Linked DNA regions of Homo sapiens: all the other regions are linked to region 5. The links are contacts of gene promoters, found by promoter capture Hi-C in blood cells and fetal thymus (Javierre and others, 2016). All regions are on one chromosome and are shown on one strand. Each heading gives the region's core, a stretch centred on a gene start or on the middle of the fragment in contact. The rest is flanking DNA. Distances are from core to core; before and after follow the strand shown.

Region 1 (3,901 bases), core at 157-2,656, 220 kb after region 5:
ACTTCTCCTTGCTGTCACCATGTGAAGAAGGATGTGTTTGCTTTCTCTTCCACCATGATTGTAAGTTTCATGAGGCCTCCCCAGCCCTGCAGAACTGTGAGTCAATTAAATCTCTTTCCTTTATAAATTACCCAGTCTTGGGTATTTCATCATAGCAGCAAGAGAATGAACTAATACAACTATTATCTTATTCCTGATCACAGAAAGAAAGTTTTCAGTATTTCTATGGTGTTTATTATTGGTGTTTTGTAGATACCCTGTATTTGATTAAAGAAGCTCTCTTCTATTCTTCGTTTGCCCAAAGATGTATTTTAATCATAAATAGATGCTTACTTTAACCAACTGCTTTTCTGCATCTAGTACAATTATCATATAATTTTTTCCTTTATTCTGTTAATGTCATAAATTCTCAGTTTTCTAATATTAAACTAACATTGCATAATTGCAACAAACTCAACTTGTGACATTTCATATATACATGTTGTATGGTTATCTAATATTAAGAATTTAAGCATATCTGTTCATGATTGAGGTTGCCTGCAATTTTTCCTCATCATTTAATGTTCATGTTCTTATATCAAAGTTGTGTTGACTTTATAAGCTAGGTTGGAGAACATCTTTGTTTTTCTGTTTTCTGAAAAGGCATAAAATCAGGGTATTTGCTAGACTGGAAGGTTTAAAATGAGTGATTCAGCTTTTTTGAGTCATAAGGAGATAGTCATAATTTCTATTTCATCATGTTGAGATTTATGCAGTTGTATTTTTTGTATTTTTCTTATCCTACTAAGCTTATAATAAAATAATCAAAACATCAAATATATTAACTAGAAATAGTTATTACCAAAATCGGTGGTAGTTGAGAGTTGTATTTAAGGGTAGCTCTTTCTATTTCTTGATTATTAAGAGTTCCCTTATTAAAATAAATTGCTTTTTGGCATAATTGTCAAAAACATATGTAATACCAAAAAGATTAAAAATGCATTTTGTTTTGAGTTAAAATGAATAGACGCATGCAGTGGCATAGCTAGGTACTTGATGCCTGAAAGGGACCATTTTTAATACGCCTTCCTCTGTATGATAAAAGTATTTTCAGTAATAATTTTGAAATGAAACAAATAATAATTATGTCCAGAAAAGAAATGCAGGCAGTGAAAGTTTTCATTTATTCAATTTTGACTATGTAATCATGCTAATAATAAATTAATAAAGTATATATTTTAGCTGAAAATGCAAAAAGTTAAGGTTTAATACTTTTTAAGTACATTAGTATGGGCCAGGCGCAGTGGCTCACGCCTGTAATCCCAGCACTTTGGGAGGCCGAGGCAGGTGGATCACCTGAGGTTGGGAGTTCAAGGCCAGCCTGGCCAATATGATGAAACCCCATCTCTACTAAAAATACAAAAAATCAGCTGGGCGTGATGGTAGGCGCCTGTAATCCCAGCTACCCGGGAGGCTGAGGCAGGACAATCACTTGAATCCGGAAGGCGGAGGTTGCATTGAGCTGAGATCGCGTCATTGCACTCCAGCCTGGGGACAGAGCAAGACTCCATCTCAAAGAAAAGAAAAGAAAAATATTTATACCTATATACTGGTTTGCCTCAGTGAAGAATAATCACTTTATGTTTTCTGACTTTGAGCATTAATTTTTGCAAATTTGTCAATGCTTTGTCAAATTAATCTTTATATAGTCATGGTCAGTAAAATCAGTGCGGTCAGATGTGTTGACATCACTCATAGTTGATTGAAGAACATTTTTTATTTTAATTTCAAAAAGTTTCACGTGAAATAACAGATATGGAAATAGTGATGAAATCTTTAAAATAAGAATACATTCATCAGATTCATACAAATCCCATTTCACAATAAATTCCAGAAATTATAGTACTACCCATATCCTTTTTTCTTTGGGATCAGTTCCAGCAGTTTTCAAATATTTCTGCTGTTGAAAAATTTCCACTAAAATAACTTCACCAGAAAATTCATCATAAATTTCTATCATATTTGGTAAAATTCTCCAAAGCTTGTAATGATTGTGAATTATTTGAGCTTGCTTCAGGCTCAGGTCACATCTCCAGTCCCTGTGGTACTATGTAAGCCTGTATTTAAACACAGACTAAAAATAAACAATTACAGCAGAGTGATTATAAAAATGAAACAGAACTTGACTGCTTATTCTTGAAATAAACAAGTATAGCTGAGTCCATGTGCATTTGAGAGTTAGAATTACTTCCACATAGAATGCAATGTTTATTAAATAATAAGTAATAATAAAAACGTAATATTCAGCTTACATTTGTTTTGTTAAATTTCAGCAACTGCAGCAGTTGTTTAGAACTTAGACCAACAAAAGTTTTTTTATTTTTCAAAGAGGAGTAGTATTGTTGATATTGCTTGGAACTGCCAGGCATAGTAAGCGGAACTGCCAGGCGTAGTAAGCAGAACTGGCTTTTATTATTATTTTATTTTTATTTCTTTTCAATTTTCTACACACAAAGCAGCCCTTATTGCCTGTACTAGGGGTGAACTACTCTCCTTATCCCATCCTTGGTATCCCATACCACTGACTGGATGAGAAAAATAGTGAAGCAAGCTGAAAGGGAACACTCACTTCCTTTTAAACAGCAGGCCAGATAGTCTTCTGGAATTAAGAGATTCCAAGTAATTATAAGAAGAATAAAGTGGTTTGTTGATTTATTTCTGGAAACTTTCACAAAAATAGATATTACATTCCTTCTTGCTCCTTTACTGGGCTTGCTTGAATCATTACAATGTGCGTCATTTTTTATTATCTGCTGATACTGGCAGTGGAGTACTAGAACTTACTTTGATGTAATGGAATGGATATACCAAGATTTTAAATTTTGGTCAGTCTTACAGACCTCTGCAGTGCCATTTGAGGTATTTCCTGGCTGTATCTGAAACTCTTCGCACCCCATCTCAAACTGAAGGGAGGCAAAATTGTTCTGCTCAATATGTGCACAGTCTCCTCGGTCCAGAAAGGAAACGTATGAGAAATTTGATTAAAATCTAAGTGACTCATAATGTGAATCTCAAAAGAGTGTAACAAATGTTAATTAGTTTTAAATTCCAACACCCTAAGAACTTATTGTATACATTGTAGTAAGTGAAATAACTGGAAAAAACAGCATTGAATCCTTTCACAATCAGACTCTCCCCTAACCAAAATGACTGTACCTTGTATGTTTTCTATGTTTCATTGACAAATTTGGTTGAAGGAACTAAACTACGTCTTTCTTAATAATCACAAAATAAACAGAAGAAATGCCCATTTGGTGCTTCCTGTTTGGTTCTGTTGATGGGCTAATGTTCCCTCCTGCTGTAGCAGTTGAGTATGTTTATATTCTTGACCCCTCTGCAGGGAAGCAGAAAAGAATCTGAACTCCGATGACTTGCTGTGCTTTTGGCTTTGATGTGCTCCTCTGGCCTCTGTGGCGGAAGCTCCATGTTAAGTAACAGACCTGAATTTACACTAAAAGTAGTGAAAATACCACAACAGCTAAAAGAAAGACTTTTAGCTGTTGTGTCTCTAAATTTACTTGTGTAAGAACACAGTTTTTGTAGTAACACACATAATGGTTTCAACTGCCCTCAAAATTAGGCAGGTAAAATATATCATAGAACATTTTCTAGAAAATATGTAGAATGGCCAATGAGGCAGAAAGCATAAACAAATAATGGGCTCACCGGAAACAAACAGAAATATTTACCAAGAGCAGTTTGGATTCAAGTATTATGGATAATACTTTAAAGTTTTGACCTCCAAATATCCTGTAATACCAGTGACTTCTATGTAACCCCTGGACTCCAGCTGTGGTTCTTTCAGCATATCATTTGCCCAAGATCTTGACAAGAAAATCCATCCTCCTCCAATTCCACCTTT
Region 2 (3,526 bases), core at 282-2,781, 240 kb after region 5:
AATTTTAATTGATCTTATTTGTCCTCTTGATTTAAAAAACATTAACCATAAGAGCCACTATTTATTAGAATATCTATTATGAGTATCTATTATGCTCAAGGCACGGTAACTCATAATTTATATACCGTTTTTATTCATTTTCAAAAGAATGCAACAAGGCCGGGCACTGTGGCTCACACCTGTAATCCCAGCACAAAAAATTAGCTGGGCATGGTGGTGGGCGCCTGTAGTCCCAGCTACTTGGGAGGCTGAGGCAGGAGAATGGCATGAACCCGGGAGGCGGAGCTTGCAGTGAGCCGAGATCATGCCACTGCACTCCAGCCTGGGTGACAGAGTGAGACTCCATCTCAAAAAAAACCCCAAAAAACAAAAAAATGCAACAAAAGATGGGTGTTATTATCACCATTTTATAGAAGGTATACTTGAGGCTCAAGAGTTTATGTAAATTGCTTTAAAAATATAGCTAGTAAGTCACAAAACAAGAATGTGGGCACTGATCTTTCTCATTAAAAAGCCCTCATTCCACCTACTATGCCAGGCCATCGTCATAATACTTTGACATTTAACCTCCTGTTCAATATTCCTTATGTTTTCATTCATATTTATCAACAAATATTTTCTGTCTAAACAGCTCATATCAAAATATCTAAGAGTAAACAAGGTCACATCAAGTTCTATGTTACCTTATACATTTACGAGATTTACAAATCTCTTACAAGATTGAAGCCGAGCTTAAAAACAAAACAAAAACACTCCCAGAATTTCTGAGTCTAATGCTTACCAGGAAACAACTTGCCTCCAACTCTTACAACATACAATATAACAGGCAGTATTAGTTGAATAAATAGTAAGTGGAAGCAACCAGGTTGTCTAATAGTCAACAGGAGAAATAAATCCACTCCATGACATAGTTAACACAGAGCTATAGTAATATGTGGTTCAGGACATTCAAAATTAGGCCAGCTGGTTATCCAAAGAACACAGGATGGTGATGGTATACTCTGCAGTTACCATAAATTGTCACTGAATGTTCAAGGCCCTGTACAGAATGAAATAAAAAACAAAGAAAACAAGCAAAAGCAATCTCTGAGTTGATAGAGATGACTATTGAAAGAATTAGAACTAAGGAATATATTCACTGTTCACGCTTTTCCAGTAATTCCTCCTAATTTTACCTGAACTTGACTAAACAGTTCATATTTACATGACCCTCCAATTTTTAACTAGAAACATGTATTGCCCTTTGGAATTATCTTGTACACACTTCTTTCCTTGTGCAGCATGGGCTGCACAGTGTTTTGTTTTCAATAAAATATCTGCTGAAATGCCTCTGTGTAAGAGGGTAGAGAGGGGACTGTATAAAAAAATTATTTGTAATGAAAGATGAGTTGGAGTAAGGATAATAAACAGAGACCAAGATTCCTACCATTGTTTAACTTCGTACTACCTTTAGAGAAAGAATTAATCATAATTTATTAGTAACAGCATCTCATTTTTAAAAACTTCTCAATTATTATAAGCATACATTATTGTCTAGTTCATATCCATATAAAATGTATGAAGAAAAGGTTCTTTTCAGAATGTTTTCAACCAAATGCATTCAAAATTCTTTATTAAGATACACTCTTCAGGTCACTGAATCCATCACTGAAGACATAGGAACAGGCAAGTAGGAGCATATACAATGCATCGGCTTGACTAGAAACTAGCTGTCTGTCAACTGCTGAAATTATCTTGTCACAAATTCAAGAAAAGTAATGATCAATCCACACCCAAACAGTAAGGTTAATGAATGATTGGAGTGGTCAGGTTCAGATTATGCCATATTCATTCAGCAAGCCTGGACTTAAGGTCTCCATGGGTCAGGCAGTGAGTTAGGGACAGAAAGATGAAACACATAGCTGCTGTCCTCAGGACTCACATGCCTGTGTGAAAGATTCATCAACAACCCAATATAAGATAGAGTTCTAACTGCTATATTTTACCTCTGTGTAAAGTTGTATGAATACACAGAGGAGGTATATTAGTCTGCTCATGCTGCCCTAACAAAATAACATAGACTGAATAGATTAAAAAACAGAAATGTTTTTTGTATTTTCTCACAGTTCTGGATGCTGGGAAGTCCAAGATCAAGGTGCTAGTCAATTTGGCTCCTGGGGAGGGCTCCCTTTCTGGCTTGTAGATGGCAGCCTTCTTGTTGTATCTTCCCAAGGCAAAGAGAGCTCTTAGGGCACAAATCCCATCATTAGGGTCCTGCCCCCATAACTTCATCTAACCCTAATTCCTCCCAAAGGCCCCATCTCTAAAGAGTATCACATTGAGAGTTATGGCTTCAACATATAAATTTTGGGGGAACACAACATTCAGTTCACAAAAAGAGGGAAGAGTTGTATCTGCCTAGTGCTGTAGAGAAGGGTATTATAGAAGCAACATTTGAACTTGGTCTCAAAGCAGGCATAGGAGGTAACCAGTGGAAGAGCTGGGAGGGCTTACCTTATAGAGCAAACAGCAGGAACAAAAACACAGAAGGAGAAACAAACATAATCATTTCAGCATATATAGAGTAAGGAGTGCCTTAGAGAAAGCAAAAAGTGAGGCAGGAAAATTAGGATGAGACCTGATTGTAGAAACTCCCTGAGCATAATGTTTATGAGCTTAAAATTTCTTTTTATGGGCAGTGGGAAGTTTATGAAATTGTATGTGTATGTACCTGTGTGTGTATGTATGTTATAATAAAGTCTGTTGTTTGGATAACAGTTACATAAGTTCAATATCTAAAAATTGAGTTTTTAAAAGTTTCTATGTTGAAATAATTTTAAACTTATAGAAAGGTTGCAAGAATAGTACAAAGAACTTCTTTGTAGTTTTTATCCAGATTTACCAATCATTACTCTCTTGCCATATTTATTGTTCTCTTTTTACATATATATGCATATATCATTTATATACTGATATGGATGTGTATGTGTATCTATACACACATACACATACTCACATGTACATACATACATTTTTTTCTAAACTAGTTGAGAATGGGTTCACACATTAATCCCTTTATCTCTTAATAATTCAGTGTATATGTTACAGAAATAAAGATACTCTATGCCAGGCACGGTGGCTCACACTTGTAATCCCAGCACTTTGGGAGGCTGAAGTGGGTGGATCACCTGAGGTCAGGAGTTCAAGACCAGCCTGACCAACATAGTGAAACGCTGTCTCTACTAAAAATACAAAAATTAGCTGGCTGTGGTGGCACATGCTACACTGTAATCCCAGCTACTCAGGGGGCTAAAGCAGGAGAATCGCTTGAACCTGGGAGGCAGAGATTTCAGTGAGCCAAGATTACGCCATTGCACTCCAGCCTGGGCAACAAGAGCGAAACTCCAACTCAAAAAAACAAAAACAAAAAAAAGGATACTCTATAGCTACGGTATAATTATCAAACTCAGGACATTAACACTGATGTAATAATTTTATCTATTCCAATTTTGTCAATTGCCTTAATAGTGATCTGTATACTATGTCA
Region 3 (3,879 bases), core at 674-3,173, 130 kb after region 5:
ATTATCTCAATGTTTACTTCCATGACATGAAGTGTTATTACCCAAATATCCAAGCATGCCACCCAAACATAATCTATTTAAATGGAATCAAACAACATTTATAATTGTAATCCCTTTTAACTGAGTAAGTATACTTTGCCCTAATATTCAACCTACAAAAGGTGAGAGGAAGAAACATGATAAGTAAAAATTATTCAAATTTAGGAACAAGACCTCTATTTTGGTAGAATGGCATAGCTTAAAGACTACGGTTAAAAATACACTTACATATCAAATTCTAATGACAAATTCTTAAAGAATCTATTATAATGGAGAAATTTTAAAACCTGGAAAGGCAATAGGAGGGAATAACCAGGTCTGCCTATATTGTTCATGAAAATTATAATTTAATGATATTTACCCATTTTAAAAAGGAGCTTGATATTTTAAATGCCTAACATGTTTTACAACTGTATGTGTAAAATATGTTTCAAAAAGTTCAGCTGGACAACTTTTTGATGTTATCACTCAGTCAATGTCTATGCAAGCATCCAGTGATCATGTGAGAAGCCATACAGACAACTGCCAGTTAGCAATTGTCAGTAGTCAGTATGATTTTAAGAAAAAAAAAAATAAACATGCAAGAATAGCCAGGATGATGGACAGTGGCCAGTCCTGTCAGAGAAGAAAATATAATATATAAATGTTGGCTTGGGCAAGAACTGAGCAGTTATAATAACTGTATGTAGTTGACACATTTATTTATCTTATAAAAATTTAATATAAATTTTATAACACACAACATCAAAAATATACCATCTATTTTAAATATAACATGACTCCGGAGGACAAGAAGTCTATAATGAAGAATAAAAATCTAAAGATTCTGAACACCAAGTATTTCCCAATGAAAAAGATTTAATCAAACTATCAACCTTATAGTGCAGTCAAAAAGCTACACACACACACACACACACACACACACACACACACACACACACACAGTGGCAATTAGCTGTTTAGAACCTGTGACAGGCAAAATAACAGTCCCCCAAGAAACTGTGCATACATTACCTTCCACTGGGGCAAAGGGACTTTGTAGATATGATTTAAAACCTTGTGATGGGAGATTATTCTAGATTACCCAGGTGGTCCCAATCTAGTCACACGGGTCCTTAAAAGCAAAGAACCTTTCTTGGCTGTAGTCGGAGAGAGATGTGACCATGGAGGAAGAATCAAAGAGATGCAAGGTTGCTAGCTTTGAAGGTGGAGGCAGGGAGCTACAAGCAAAGGAATATATGTGAACTCCAAAAGCTAGAAAAAGGCAAAGAAAAGTATTCTGCCCTAGAGCTTCCAGAATAAAATGTAGCCCTGCTAACACCTTGATTTTAGCCCTGTGTTACACTTCTACAAAACTGTAAGATCACTCTGTGCTGTTTTAGGCCACTGAGTATGTGGTAATTTGTTACAGCATTTGTATGCATTTTTAGGCAGTCAAGGACTACCAGAGATTTGTGGAAATCCCATAATAGGACAAAAGAGACCCAAATGAACAAACTCATTAATGCAGCTTGGGAGAAATTAAACCATGCAGGCAGAAAGAAATTTCAAGACAAAAGAAGCTCTTGAAATGGAAAACAAAATAGCAGGAAGGTAAGTGCAATAAAAGGGCTGGGGAGAAAAGTTGAAGAAACCTTGAAAATGCAAAAAAAGTAAGAAAATAAAATAGAAAACAGCAGAGGAAAAAAAAAAAAGAGGACTGGCCCAAGAGGTTAAACATGTGAAAAAGAAGAGAGGAAAAAAAAAAGAAAGAAAAAAGAAAAAAGGGGGAAGAAAAGGAGATCCAAATATATCAAGGAAAATTGCTAGAACTAAAGGGGATAAGTTTCCATATTGAAAGAATCCATGAAGTGCACAGTACACAGACTCATCTCAAAACAAGATACATCATCCCGTAATTTCAAAACACTAGTAACATAAAAAAGATCCTATATGCTTCAGAGTGGAATATCAGGTTTCATTCAAAGCATCAGGAATAGTGGGGTCAGACATCTCAACAGCAACACTAGACACTAGTATACAATAAAACAATGACTCCAAAACTCAGAGAGACAATTTCCAGACTATAATTTCATATCCAGCCAAGCTACCCTTTAAACTTGAGGGAAGAAAAAACATATACAGACATCCAAGGTCTCAAAATTTACCTCTCATAAATGCTTTCTCTGGAAGCCAGTGGAAAATATCTCCACCTAAATTAGGATGTATATCAAAAAGAAGACATGGCACAAGGAATCCAATTCAAGAGAAAAAGGAACAAAGATGGCTGTACAGCAGACCTGGCTGCAAGCAATCCACATCCTAGCATGTCAAAAAGATGCAGCATTACTTCTTCAAAAAGATGAATTATTTTTAAAAAATGTCTTATTAAGAATGTCTTGTTTGAATAGATAGAAAACTTACACAAGAGTGAGAGTCTGGCTGGTCACTAGAGATAACCATATAAAAAACTTACCAAATAAAACAAAAAGCTATTATGAATCCAAGAGAAAACAAAGAGTTGTACACACATTGAAAAGTCATTACAGTATACAATATAGTTCAGTTGTCAATAACTTTTGCCTTGTTAAAATATGCAAACAGGCTGGGCGTGGTGGCTCACACCTGTAATCCCAGCACTTTGGGAGGCCGAGGCAGGCGGATCACCTGAGGTCGGGAGTTCGAGACCAGCCTGACCAACATGCAGAAACCCCATCTCTACTAAAAATACAACATTAGCTGGGCGTGGTGGCACATGCCTGTAATCCCAGCTACTAGGGAGGCTGAGGCAGGAGAATCGCTTGAACCCAGGAGGTGGAGGTTGCGGTGAGCTGAGATCGGGCCATTGCACTCCATCCTGGGCAACAAGAGCGAAACTCCACCTAAAAAAAAAAATGAGCAAACACTTGATATTCCACTCATTAAAATTATGGCATATTTATAAAATAAAACAGATCTATATTGTAATGAAATAACTTATCTGTGTCAGAGTGAGAGAGAGATGATGCATTTGCAAGCCAAGAACACCAAAGATTGCCTACAACCACCAGAAGCTAGGAGAGCAGCTTAGGATGGTCTCTCCTTCAGAGAGCCTCCAGAAGGAATGAAGCCTATTGATATCTTGATTTCAGACTTCTAGCTTCCAGAACTGAGAGAGAATAAATTTCTGTTGGTTTAAGCCACCTAGTCTATGGTATTTTGTTACAGCAGCCCTAGCAACAAATACACCGACACTAAAAAACCTGACCGGCCATTGCTGCCACCTCGTACACTCCCCATCATCTTCCTGTCGCTGCCTGAACACTCAGTTACTCCCATTTACTTGAAAGAGCACTTGCCTAATATTCTGAGAACACGGCAGGCAAAAGGGCAAAGAATTACTTGAGGAATGAAGTTTCAAAATAATGAGGGACACTTTTTCACAATGGGAAAAACCGTAGTCAAATCACCAATTTTTGCTGCCCTCATGGTGGGAAAACATCAAATCCAAAGTGAGGTAGGCCTGGAGGAGCTAGCATACGTGAAATGATATTTTGCTGTCTCTTAGAGTACGGTTAATATATTTACCCACTATTTCTGCTTTTAATGTTTTATGAATAATTTTCTTTGATAATTTGATTTTTAAAGGTTTTGCTGAAATTATGCAGAGCTTCATAAAATCCAGAGGCCTTTTTAAAACAGTGAATGAACTGTGGCTGATTTTACTCTGGGTGCAGTAGGAAATAATGCTCTGCACAGTTTATTCCATTCAGCCCCGGAAACCTGACATATAATCATTAATCACAGGCCTGTACTGTTTCTTAATGAAATAAAGATGCTTCCCAATACATTTTGAGAATAAGCATTCTAAACACTAGAATT
Region 4 (3,692 bases), core at 417-2,916, 200 kb after region 5:
TATAAGTTCAGATTCCTAAACACTATAAAAGGGAGTAGTACATTTAGGTATTTTTTTAAAAAGACTATGCATGTAAACATGAAATAATTAATATGTAAGTGATTCTTTTAAAGGTAGTAAGTGGTGAGCTTTTGGTTATGGCCAAGTGAGGAGACAAATTCTCTCTGTAAAAAGTAACTATAAAGCTGGATAAAATTGACAAAAACAATCATTTTAGCACTCTGAAAATCAACCAAAGGCATACAACCTGAGAAGTGTTTAGGCTTGAAAAACTGCTGAATATAAGAATAATGAGAACCTGTGGCATTCTAGCCTGAAGCTACTCACATATCTGCCCTCCCTTCCTCCTCACTTCAGTAAGGACAGAGGTTTTATAGAAGGAGGCCAGGCCATGAGGACAGGCAGCTTCTCTGTCACGATCCATGAGAGCTCACTCAATCTGGAGTGATGAGAAATGACCACTCCCAGCAGCATATTTGGTAAAAGTGCTGATCTCTGAGGTGGGTAAACAGGGAAAGCCAACTGCTCTACTAGTCTGAGGCTGTAGTCACAGTTGGAGAATACTTCTCTGGCTGTGTATATTTCCTGGAGAAGGCCCGAGCTAGTCACTCAATCCCGGCTACCCCTGAATTTGTTTGCATAAAAGAGATAAGAAAAGGTCCAGTGGTCAGTAAAAGCTGGAGCTTGAGTCAGCTTGAAAGCACCTGAACTCTGAGTGAGCTCCCCTACCACACAGAGATCCTTTGGCAAAAGACAGAAACTTCATTGGCTCAAGTGTTTCAGCACAACCTCTATCCAATCACTAAGCCATACTGGCATGGGAAAACCTTTAGGAATCCAGGTTTAGAGGTGTGTATGTATGTATATGGGTGTGTGTGTGTAGATATATGTATATATGTATACATATCCATTTTATATTAGTGTATATAAATATTGATATATATGTATATGTATGTGTATATATATATTTTGGTTATACTTTATGTTCTAGGGTACATGAGAACAACGTGCAGGTTTGTTACATATGTATACATGTGCCATGTTGGTTTGCTGCACCTGTTAACTCATCATTTACATTAGGTATATCTCCTAATGCTATCCCTCCCCCCTCCACCCACCCCACCCTGGTGTGTGATGTTCCCCACCCTGTGTCCAAGTGTTCTCATTGTTCAATTCCCACCTATGAGTGAGAACATGTGGTGTTTGGTTTTCTGTCCTTGAGATAGTTTGCTCAGAATGATGGTTTCCAGCTTCATCCATGTCCCTACAAAGGACATGAACTCATCCTTTTTTATGGCTGCATAGTATTCCATGGTGTATATGTGCCACATGTTCTTAATCCAGTCTATCATTGATGGACATTTGGGTTGGTTCCAAGTCTTTGCTATCGTGAATAATGCCGCAATAAACATACGTGTGCATGTGTCTTTATAGCAGCATGATTTATAATCCTTTGGGTATATACCCAGTAATGGGATGGCTGGGTCAAATGGTATTTCTAGTTCTAGATCCTTGAGGAATCGCCACACTGTCTTCCACAATGGTTGAACTACTTTACAGTCCCACTAACAGTGTAAAAGTATTCCTATTTCTCCACATCCTCTCCAGCACCTGTTGTTTCCTGACTTTTGGGGTTTTTTTTTTGTTTTTTTTTGTTTTTTTTGAGACGGAGTCTCACTCTGTCGCCCAGGCTAGAGTGCAGTGGCACGATCTCGGCTCACTTCAAGCTCCGTCTCCCAGGTTCACGCCATTCTCTTTCCTCAGCCTCCCGAGTAGCTGGGACTACAGGCGCCAGCCACCATGCCTGGCTAATTTTTTTAATTTTTAGTAGACACGGGGTTTCACCGTGTTAGCCAGGATGGTCTTGATCTCCTGACCTCACAATCCACCCGCTTTGGCCTCCCAAAGTGCTGGGATTACAGGCGTGAGCCACCGTGCCCAGCCTGTTTCTTGACTTTTTAATGATTGCCATTCTAACTGGTGTGAGATGGTATCTCATTGTGGTTTTGATTTGCATTTCTCTGATGGCCAGTGATGATGACCATTTTTTAATGTGTCCGTTGGGTGCAAAAATGTCTTCTTTTGAGAAGTGTCTGTTCACATCCTTCACCCACTTTTTGATGGGGTTGTTTGATTTATTTCTCATAAATTTGTTTAAGTTCTTTGTAGATTCTGGATATTAGCCCTTTGTCACATGGGTAGATTGTAAAAATTTTCTCCCATTGTGTAGGTTGCCTGTTAACTCTGATGGTAGTTTCTTTTGCTGTGCAGAAGCTCTTTAGTTTAATTAGATTCCATTTGTCAATTTTGGCTTTTGTTGCCATTGCTTTTGATGTTTTAGTCATGAAGTCCTTGCACATGCCTATGTCCTGAATGGTATTGCCTAGGTTTTCTTCTAGGGTTTTTATGGTTTTAGGTCTAACATTTAAGTCTTTAATCCATCTTGAATTAATTTTTGTATGCGGTGTAAGGAAGGGATCCAGTTTCAGCTTTCTACATATGGCTAGCCAGTTTTCCCAGAACCACTTAATTAAACAGGGAATCTTTTCTCCATTTCTTGTTTTTGTCAGGTTTGTCAAAGATCAGATGGTTGTAGATGTGTGGTATTATTTCTGAGGGCTCTGTTCTGTTCCATTGGTCTATATCTCTGTTTTGGTACCAGTACCATGCTGTTTTGGTACCAGTACCATGCTGTTTTGGTTACTGTAGCCTTGTAGTATAGTTTGAAGTCAGGTAGCATGATGCCTCCAGCTTTGTTCTTTTTGCTTAGGATTGTCTTGGCAATGCGGGCTCTTTTTTTGGTTCCATATGAACTTTAGAGGAGTTTTCTCCAATTCTGTGAAGAAAGTCATTGGTAGCTTGATGGGGATGGCACTGAATCTATAAATTACCTTGGACAGTATGGCCATTTTCAGGATATTGATTCCTCCTATCCATGAGCATGGAATGTTCTTCCATTTGTTTGTGTCCTCTTTTATTTAATTGAGCAGTGGTCTGTAGTTCTCCATAAGAAGTCCTTCACATCCCTTGTAAGTTGGATTCCTAGGTATTTTATTCTCTTTGAAGCAATTGTGAATGGGAGTTCACTCATGATTTTGCTCTCTGTTTGTCTGTTATTGGTGTATAGGAATGCTTGTGATTTTTGCATATTGATTTTGTATCCTGAGACTCTGCTGAAGTTGCTTATCAGCTTAAGGAGATTTTGGGCTGAGATGATGGGGTTTTCTAGATATATAACCATGTCATCTGCAAACAGGGACAATTTGACTTCCTCTTTTCCTAATCCAATACCCTTTATTTCTTTCTCCTGCCTGATTGCCCTGGCCAGAACTTCCAACACTATTTTGAATAGGAGTGGTAAGAGAGGGCGTCTCTGTCTTGTGCTAGTTTTCAAATGGAATGCTTCCAGTTTTTGCCCATTCAGTATGATATTGGCTGTGGGTTTGTCATAAATAGCTCTTATTATTTTGACATACATCCCATCAATACCTAGTTTATTGAAAGTTTTTAGCATGAGGCGCTGTTGAATTTTGTCAAAGGCCTTTTCTGCATCTATTGAGATAATCATGTGGTTTTTGTCTTTGGTTCTGTTTATATGCTGGATTACGTTTATTGATTTGTGTATGTTGAACCAGCCTTGTATCCCAGGGATGAAGCCCATTTGATCATGGTGGATAAGCTTTTTGATGTGC
Region 5 (4,026 bases), core at 1,033-3,532:
AGTGTCTACTCTGCTGCCCATGTATTCCCAAAGGACCAGCATAGGGGCATAGCTCAATTCACCATTTACTTGGGTTGGTTGACTGCAGTGCAGTTTTACCAGACTGAAGAATGTGTCTTTCTCCTAACCCCAGTTCCAGATTTAGTCCTAACAAGACTAAAGAACTCTTAGTAAAACAGGAAAAACTTTGCTTATGCATTATCTTGGAATAATTCTTTCCTAGTTGGCTGCCAGGGCAGACATTATAGATCATGTACCCGCTTGAAACATCATCTCTGTGCTTTCTTCTATTTAAGGGAGGAGTACATTTACATTAAAAAAGGAGTCTGGGGAACACAGGGCTCACTTGCATCCTAAGAGCTGCTGAAGACTAGCAGGTTTCATAGACTGAAAACCAGCAAACCAGTGTCCCCTGTGATGATGAGTACAGCTGTGGTCGTGAAGGTTGTGCTTTGTACAGTAGCACCTGGCAGGGGCTCTGCTCCTTCCTTAAGCTCGTGTCTTGACTGGAAGGTCAATGGAGCAGAGGGGAGCCATGTCAGTCTGAAGTAAAAGCCGGCTTTTTCTAATACATCCAATGACATCCCGAATTCTCCCGATGGCCATAATGTGACCATACCACAGCCATTAGAGTTTGGTGAAATTGATTCCAGTACCGCCATCACCTCGCAGCAAGCACACAGGCCCTTTGTAGGTTATTCTCTGGGGTATCTTACTCAGAACTAGGATTGCCCACAAATTGACCCAGCAACATGCTGTCCCTGCACCTTAGTAAGCTTTTTGAGTCTGCCTCTAAAATAGTTTGCTCTAACATAATTAGAGTGTGTGCGGTACAAAATAAATTTGACTTGGAATCATCAAAATTAGCCCAAATCCCTTCTTGTTGCCAACATCCAGATAACCTTGAATACATTTCTCAACCTCTCTACTTTTAGATTCTTATCCTGTAAAATGGCCATGATTACAGTACTATTTCACAGATTGTATCTGAATTAAAATGAGATGAAGAGAACGAAAACCATGTTGTAAACTGTAAATTTGATATACATATAAGTCGTTATTATTTGCTACTGAAAAACTCTCCACCCCATACCCCACAACTAAGTGAAATTAATTTTCCTGAGATCATAGTGTCATAGAACATATGCAGTGATGGAAATGCCTTAGGTATTGTAGAATTCCATTCAATTTATCCAACCACAAGAATAACCTATAGTAACTAGTTATTATATGGTGCATTTTAATGTGTTTTACGGTACGCCTCGTCTCTTTGGTTCTCACAATTATTCTGTGAGGTGAGTGATATTGTTGCCATTTTGCAAATGTGGAAACTGAGTCATAGAGCAATAAAATGGCTTGCCCAATGCCACACAGCCAGTAAATGGTAGGGCTGCAACAGCCTGAGCCTTCCAAATCCTCCTAGGTTCTTTCAACTACACCACACTTTTCGTCAAAGTATTCTTGAGTTTGTCACTTTATAGCAAGAATTTTCCAGAACAAATAGGACTAATGGACTCAAACTATAAGTAGAAGAAAATTACTTTCCTAAACTGAGTTTTCCGCTTCCATTTCTGGAAAGATTTTGATCCTACTCTGCACCCTGCAGTTGTCAAGGTGAAAGGATTTTTTTATTTGAACTTTAAGTATTTCTGCGTAAATAAAGAGAGCCTTCAATAGCTTACGTCTCAGGAGCTCTCAAAAGAAAGCTAAGGGCTTACTTTCTCTATCAGAATCATTATACATTATGATACTGTAGAGCGCCCATTTTGAACAACAGTTTTGTAAGAAAATATTGCCCATTCTATCACTCCTTAATGTTGTTGATTGCTGCTAATGAAAAGCAAAAAAGTTACCAGATATATTTGAATACTGTAATCACACAAGATAGGGATCTATGGTTTTGGGGACAGTGTGATAACCATTGGTGTAGTTGAGGGATCACGTTTTAACTCAGGATTTATTACCTACAGATTGCTGATCTTGTCTCTCTAATTCTTACAACAATCAATCCAAGACTGAATAATGCTAACATTTAGATCTATCTTGGATTGCGAAGGTTTCTGTTTCTGATTTTAAAACAATGTCTTGGCCTGAGAACAAAACACCACTCTTGAACTCCCTCGGGCTAAAGAATTTTTTGAGTTGCAGTGCTTCAGGTCTGACTTCACATTATCAGCTTTTATGGCTCTAGATTACAATTCATCCTTACAAATGAAGCAGTTATTTGATCCATGGCAAGTTACGTGGCTATAAGACAATCCTGTTGTTCATGGTTTTTTTCCCTCTTCAGCTCAGCAAAGAGCAAAAGCAGCAGAGTGCAGAAGCAGCACTCCTGTCTCAAAGCGAGGAAGAGCTTACAAAAACAAAACAAAAAGACATGGACTGATACACCTCTAAGAAACAGGCAAAAGAAGAGAAATTGAAGATCATATTCTTCATCTATCAAGCACTATGTCTCGCCCTGCACACCGAAGACCAGAATACCATAAAATAGTAAGATCTTTCTACAAAGAGATTTTTTCTACTTCAGAGAAAATGTTTTCTTGAGTGATTTCTGATTGATTTTAAAAACTGATGCTATAAGAATTTTTAGTGGAGGAAAGACAGTGTTCAGCGAAGTGAATCATAAATGACACATCTAGGAATAATTATGATTATCTCCTACATAAAGAATAATCAATTCTTTATACACACTTTAAGGTCTTCTTTTCTGACTAATTATATCAATATGAGTGTCAATTTTTTCACCTCTGACAGAAAATATGAAAATATTAGCAATTTTTTCTATTTCATACTTCAGGAAATGGGAACTTACATATATATGTATATGTATATATATGTATGTATGTATATATATATGTGTGTATATATATAGTTGATTATGTGTAAAACTGAATCGAAATAGGTCATCAAAAAAGGATTGCCTTTAAAAATGTTTCCTAGTCTTATTGTAGCTTGGTATGTAATATCATCCTTTCTATATATTCCAGGTTAAGAGTTATTTATAAACCTTATTTTTTTGCAGATTAGTTTTAAATAATATTCTTTAATACTCTCTTATAGTTTTAGTCACTCAGATACTACAGATACAAAAACTCACTGTTAACTTTAAAATTCTGTTAATTATGTCAGGAGACTGATGGGCATTTGATATAATTAAGTAATTTCAGACTTGGTGTTTAGAATTGTAGTGACTAACTAGCATACTTCAGTTTGAAATGCCTGCAGATACCTCCTCTGGCCTTCTGGGATCTTGATTTATTTTCCTGTGGGACTCTCAAGTGCTAAAAATATATGGTACATAGTTCATATTATACCGAAATCACTTGATTTTATAAAGCAGTTAAAATGTATTTTTATCCTGATACATTCATAACCTACTGAAATAGTTAATGATGTTCTTTCAGATATTCATATGATTATTTTTATTGTTTTAAAAACGATAAAGATAAACTTATGTTGACCTTTCCTGGCATCTGTGGTATGGATTTGAGACCCAATTGAACAGATAGTTCAAGGTACAGTCCTTGGCCATGAAGCAGAATAGAGAAAGCTGGCCTTTATGGGTACTGAACCAGAAACTCAGCTGGAAATAAAATAGATTTCAATATATAATAGTGCCCACCCATCAGGGACAGAGAAGAAATTCCACTATTTCAGTTTGGCCTTAATTATAAAGGGACACAATGTTGGGGCCATGGCATGTAGGTAGGGTATGATTTTTTCTACTTTTCTCTTTTTCAAATTCTTTTGTTTTACTGCTAGTCACAACAATCTCATCATTCTCTCTCTCTCTCTCTCTCTCTCTCTCTCTTCTTCACCTTTGCTTATCTTTATGCTGTAGCATTAGTACATGGCAGCACTTTGTCTTCTGCTGTGGCTCTTATATGTTGAGCAGACTTTTCATTGATAATTTACCAGCATTTCTTGTGATTTATTATTAGGTTCTTGGAAAAACCCTAAGCCAAACCTAAATTGTCTTAAGTTTTAGTTTTCATTTATAATTTACTCTAAAAATGGGACATA
Region 6 (4,049 bases), core at 246-2,745, 180 kb after region 5:
ACCAGGCACGTCCATACGTGTCTCCTTTTATCCTCACAGGCACTGACTGATGAGGAAACAGAGGCTCTGAAAGTTAAAGTGAATTTCCCAAACCATAAATGGTTCAGACCACATAACAATTATGTTTTCTGACATAAAATCTAGGATCCTTCCACTAAACCACTTGGCCTAGACTAACTTTTTGTGTCTAAAGCCTCATTTACAGTTTGCGTATCCTGGCCTCAGTTGAAAGCTATTCTCCATTCATTGACAATTGACTTTTGAAATGGATGATTTTATATCACCTCTTATTATAAACTACCTAAGGTGTCCTAAACACCTTCCAAATTATAATATTGTTCTCTGAAATTACAAAAATTACTGATATTTGTTACATGAATGAATGAAATTAGATGTTTATTCTTTTCCTTAGACTTAATAGACCAAAAGGAGTGTAACATTTAGTATTATAAGCTCCTTCATGGTAGAGACTCTTCTTCATTTCTATAGCCATTCCTCATATTTCCTGGCAGAGGGCACGTTTATTAAATTAGAATTCAATTTTCAGATTGTGGCTGTGTCCCAGTCTAGATACCATGGTGGATAATTTAATGTGTCCATCAAATAAGAGCAAGGACTTTGAAGTTGAACAAAACTAGGCTGAAATCTAGACTCTGTCACTAACTGTGTGACCTTAGGCAGGCAAGTCATTTAACATTGTTGAGTTCCACTTTCTCATCAGTAGGATTTTGATATGCAAACTTTTCTCATACAGTTTCTGGAAGGAGCAAACCAAACGTTGTATATAAAATACCTGCCAAGGAATGAGAACTCAGTAAGTAGGTGTTTATTGTCATAACTTAGAATGGTTCTAGGGGCTGTCAATGAGAGATACACCCTTTGGAATCAGTCTTGTGTGGACTGGAACATGCCTGGGCATTTTTCAGGCAGGATCTGAAGCAATTAAGGTGAGTGATACCCTACCTCTCAGAACCCTGCTAAAAGTAGTTGAGGTCATGCCAGTTTTTGCAATAGTTTGGAAATCAAGCCTTCTGTGCTCTTCAGGAGGAGATAAGGATTGTCGTGGCAGTATTCTATAATAGTAATTCTAACCCCTGGGTGCATATTAGCATCACTTGGGAGAACCCAAAACACACCAATGCCTAGTTGTACTCTTAGAAATTCTGATTTAATTCCTTCTAGGATGAAGTCCAGATACCCCATATGCTTTTAAAGGTACGAGATAGTTCCAATGTGCAGCCAGAGTTAGAACCAATGCTACGTAGTGGTGCTTCCCAAACTTTGCTGCACATTAGAACCATCTGGAGAGCTTTAAGAACTTCCGGCCACGTGCGGTGGCTCACGGCTGTGATCCCAGCACTTTGGGAGGCCGAGATGGGCAGATCACGAGGTCAGGAGATCGAGACCATCCTGGCTAACATGGTGAAACCCCGTCTCTACTAAATATACAAAAAATTAGCCAGGCGTGGTGGTGGGTGCTTGTAGTCCCAGCTACTTGGGAGGCTGAGGCAGGAGAATGGCGTGAACCCAGGAGGCGGAGCTTGCAGTGAGCCGATTGCACCACTGCACTCCAGCCTGGGCGATAGAGCAAGACTCCATCCCCCCCACAAAAAAAGAACTTCCGATGCCCCAGTTATAGTCTGTACCAACCAAATTAGAAAGTTTGAGGTGTTTAAAACTCTGTGATTCCAATGTACCAAAAGTTTGGAACCACTGTTTTATAGAGTGTTACTAAATAGGCTGGGTGAGGTGGCTCACACCTGTAATCCCAGCACTTTGGGAGGCCAATGCAGGCAAACTGCTTGAGCCCAGGAGTTCGAGATCAGCCTGGGCAACATGGCAAAACCCCATCTCTACTAAAAACACACACAAAAAATTAGCCGGGCATGGTGGCGCACACTGTAATCCCAGTTACTCAGGAGGCTGAGGCACGAGAATTGCTGGAACCCAAGAGGCAGAGGTTGCAGTGAGCCGAGATCACACCACTGCACTCCAGCCTGGGCAACAAGAGTGAAACTCGGTGTCAAAAAAAAAAAAAAAAAAAAAAGTGTTACTAAACAGGTACTTGAACCAAAGGAAGTATTAATTAGAGAATATGTTTATTTGCCACATTTCTTCTGGTTTATTAATTATATAAAATATTGTGAAGATTAGTTTTTATTAACTCAAGCTCACTAATGTATTTCTTTCTAAATACTTTTGTTGGATATGCAGTTTGGGAAAAATAATATTTGATGTCAATACTGGCTGAACTAGTGAAGTTGACTTCATATTGCAGTTAATGTTTCACTTCAAGTTTCTGCTGCCTGAGTATTACACATAGTGAATTCCAGTAAAACATTTAACAGCCAGGCCATTCAGACTTCTCCTTCTGCTCAGGCCTTTTCTTCTGCTGATGAGATTACCCGTGTCAGGCAAAGAAAATCTTGGCTATTTTGCATTTATAGTATCTTTTAGATGGGAAATAGTCGACAGTTTGCTGATGTTAAACTTAAGTATGTAGTCTAGTGACATGTTTCTATGTCCTTTCTCACCAAACTCCAAAGAATACACACTGGTTCTTTTTCCATGTTTTCTTTCATTTTTGATTTTTTAATAGTGACATTTTGATTTTGCCATTTTTACTCATCTTGGCCAAATGGAAACACTGCCATTTTAAAAAAATGTTAAAATAACAAAATAAAAACCCAACAACAGTTTAACAAACAAACAAAAAACACAGCATTCCTTAGAAGTATTTGTCATCTAAGTGAGAAAAGTATAAGGAAACTTGGAATAATTATATTCTAACCATTTTGTTTTACAAAGAAACCAAGGTTAACATAGATGGGGACTGTTACCAGTTTTTGCTGCTAATTAGTTAGAAGTGGAAGGAGAAGTCAAGCCTCCTGATTCCTAGCCAGATTTTCTTTTTCTCACTTCTCCTTGCTGAATCATTGGCCAAAAATGTACAACTAACTTCTCCTTTTGGGAAGTGCATATTTCATATTAACTCTGGCAATTTATGAAAAAATGTAGATTCATTTGCTCCATTAACAAAATATCAGTGCCTAAGAAGAAATAAGGTTGATTTTTGAAAGAAATCAAGTGCCTACTCAGAATGTGCAGGGGATGGCACCTTTCATTTAGCAGCGTTAAGCTTAATGTGTTGTTTTACTTATGATGTAATTTCTCCCCGATATATGAACAATGTAAGTTCACATCACTACATATGTAAAATCACTATCTAACTAAATGCCTGTCCTTGAGGTGAAATCTTTAATAAACTTTCACCCATCTTGAGTTATTTTTCCTCTGATTATACCTGGGAATTAAGGTATTTAAAAGTTCTAATAAATTTCCATCTTTTTATTGCATGAATCAATTTTCTGAATTTCCTGTTATTATACAAGAAGGCTGATACTTGATAGCAGTGCTTCTGTTCATGGTGGGCAGATTAATGTTGTGGTGTGAAGATCAGCTAAGTATCTATCATATATATATACACACACACACACAAAGCACACACATGTGTATATATATGTATATTTTAAAATCTCACTTTCTGATCAGTCATTAAACATGTGGCAAGTATCTATCATATAGACACACACACACAAGCACACACATATATGCATATATGTGTGTGTGTATATATATATTTAAATATCTCACTTTCTGATCAGTCATTAAACGTGGCAAAAAAAAGCAACTGTTACAAAGTAGAAATAGATATAGGATACAACAATCTTGGATTGTAGTATAATGGAAAAGTTACTTTAAATGAATCTGCCTGAAATTGACAAATTTTAATGTTGTCTGGGGGGAAATTAATGGGTTAATTCTGGAAACTGAAAGTTCTAGGTTCTAGGACTAAATTGACCCTAGAAGAAATTCTGTTTTTACTTCCCCTGTACATTTGGAAAAATCAGCAGTAGCATAAACCATGATAACTTGGGAAAATCACTTAACTTCTTTTGAGTCTTAGTGTCCTTAGCTATAAATAGAAGAAACCATTCTACTTCATTTGTTCTCAAGTATGGTTATACTTTAGGACCACCCAGGAAACT

Evidence for each region. The method cuts DNA at HindIII sites, captures the fragments that hold promoters and counts their contacts. A CHiCAGO score of 5 or more calls a contact.
Region 1: a fragment that was not itself captured here is called in contact with the fragment with the promoter of TRAPPC3L in region 5 in 12 of 17 cell types (neutrophils, monocytes, naive B cells and 9 more); the score reaches 15.3 in neutrophils.
Region 2: a fragment that was not itself captured here is called in contact with the fragment with the promoter of TRAPPC3L in region 5 in 16 of 17 cell types (neutrophils, total B cells, naive B cells and 13 more); the score reaches 34.3 in neutrophils.
Region 3: a contact is called between a fragment that was not itself captured here and the fragment with the promoter of TRAPPC3L in region 5, in 6 of 17 cell types (neutrophils, naive B cells, monocytes and 3 more). The highest score is 14.9, in neutrophils.
Region 4: a contact is called between a fragment that was not itself captured here and the fragment with the promoter of TRAPPC3L in region 5, in 3 of 17 cell types (total B cells, naive B cells and neutrophils). The highest score is 8.9, in total B cells.
Region 6: a fragment that was not itself captured here is called in contact with the fragment with the promoter of TRAPPC3L in region 5 in 12 of 17 cell types (neutrophils, naive B cells, total B cells and 9 more); the score reaches 19.5 in neutrophils.

The regions. Positions count from the first base shown.
Region 1 is chr6:116,327,495-116,331,395 of GRCh38, reverse strand. It overlaps a transcript of DSE not described here. Among named protein-coding and RNA genes, the nearest start is that of DSE, 42 kb to the left of the region's middle. The HindIII fragment of the contact is 1,232 bases long and covers 791-2,022 here.
Region 2 is chr6:116,305,519-116,309,044 of GRCh38, reverse strand. It overlaps a transcript of DSE not described here. Among named protein-coding and RNA genes, the nearest start is that of TSPYL1, 27 kb to the right of the region's middle. RefSeq lists an enhancer at 3,496-3,526. The HindIII fragment of the contact is 6,577 bases long and covers 1-3,526 here.
Region 3 is chr6:116,413,454-116,417,332 of GRCh38, reverse strand. The region is part of intron 2 of DSE (dermatan sulfate epimerase); the gene reads right to left. Among named protein-coding and RNA genes, the nearest start is that of DSE, 44 kb to the right of the region's middle. The HindIII fragment of the contact is 8,630 bases long and covers 1-3,879 here.
Region 4 is chr6:116,346,398-116,350,089 of GRCh38, reverse strand. It overlaps a transcript of DSE not described here. Among named protein-coding and RNA genes, the nearest start is that of DSE, 23 kb to the left of the region's middle. The HindIII fragment of the contact is 4,031 bases long and covers 1-3,681 here.
Region 5 is chr6:116,543,940-116,547,965 of GRCh38, reverse strand. It overlaps TRAPPC3L (trafficking protein particle complex subunit 3L), which reads left to right and starts at 2,282. Exons shown (of 5, transcript NM_001139444.3): 1 at 2,282-2,493. The coding sequence starts at 2,452. It also overlaps a transcript of CALHM4 not described here. The HindIII fragment of the contact is 9,007 bases long and covers 779-4,026 here.
Region 6 is chr6:116,362,827-116,366,875 of GRCh38, reverse strand. It overlaps a transcript of DSE not described here. Among named protein-coding and RNA genes, the nearest start is that of DSE, 6.1 kb to the left of the region's middle. The HindIII fragment of the contact is 3,293 bases long and covers 1-3,141 here.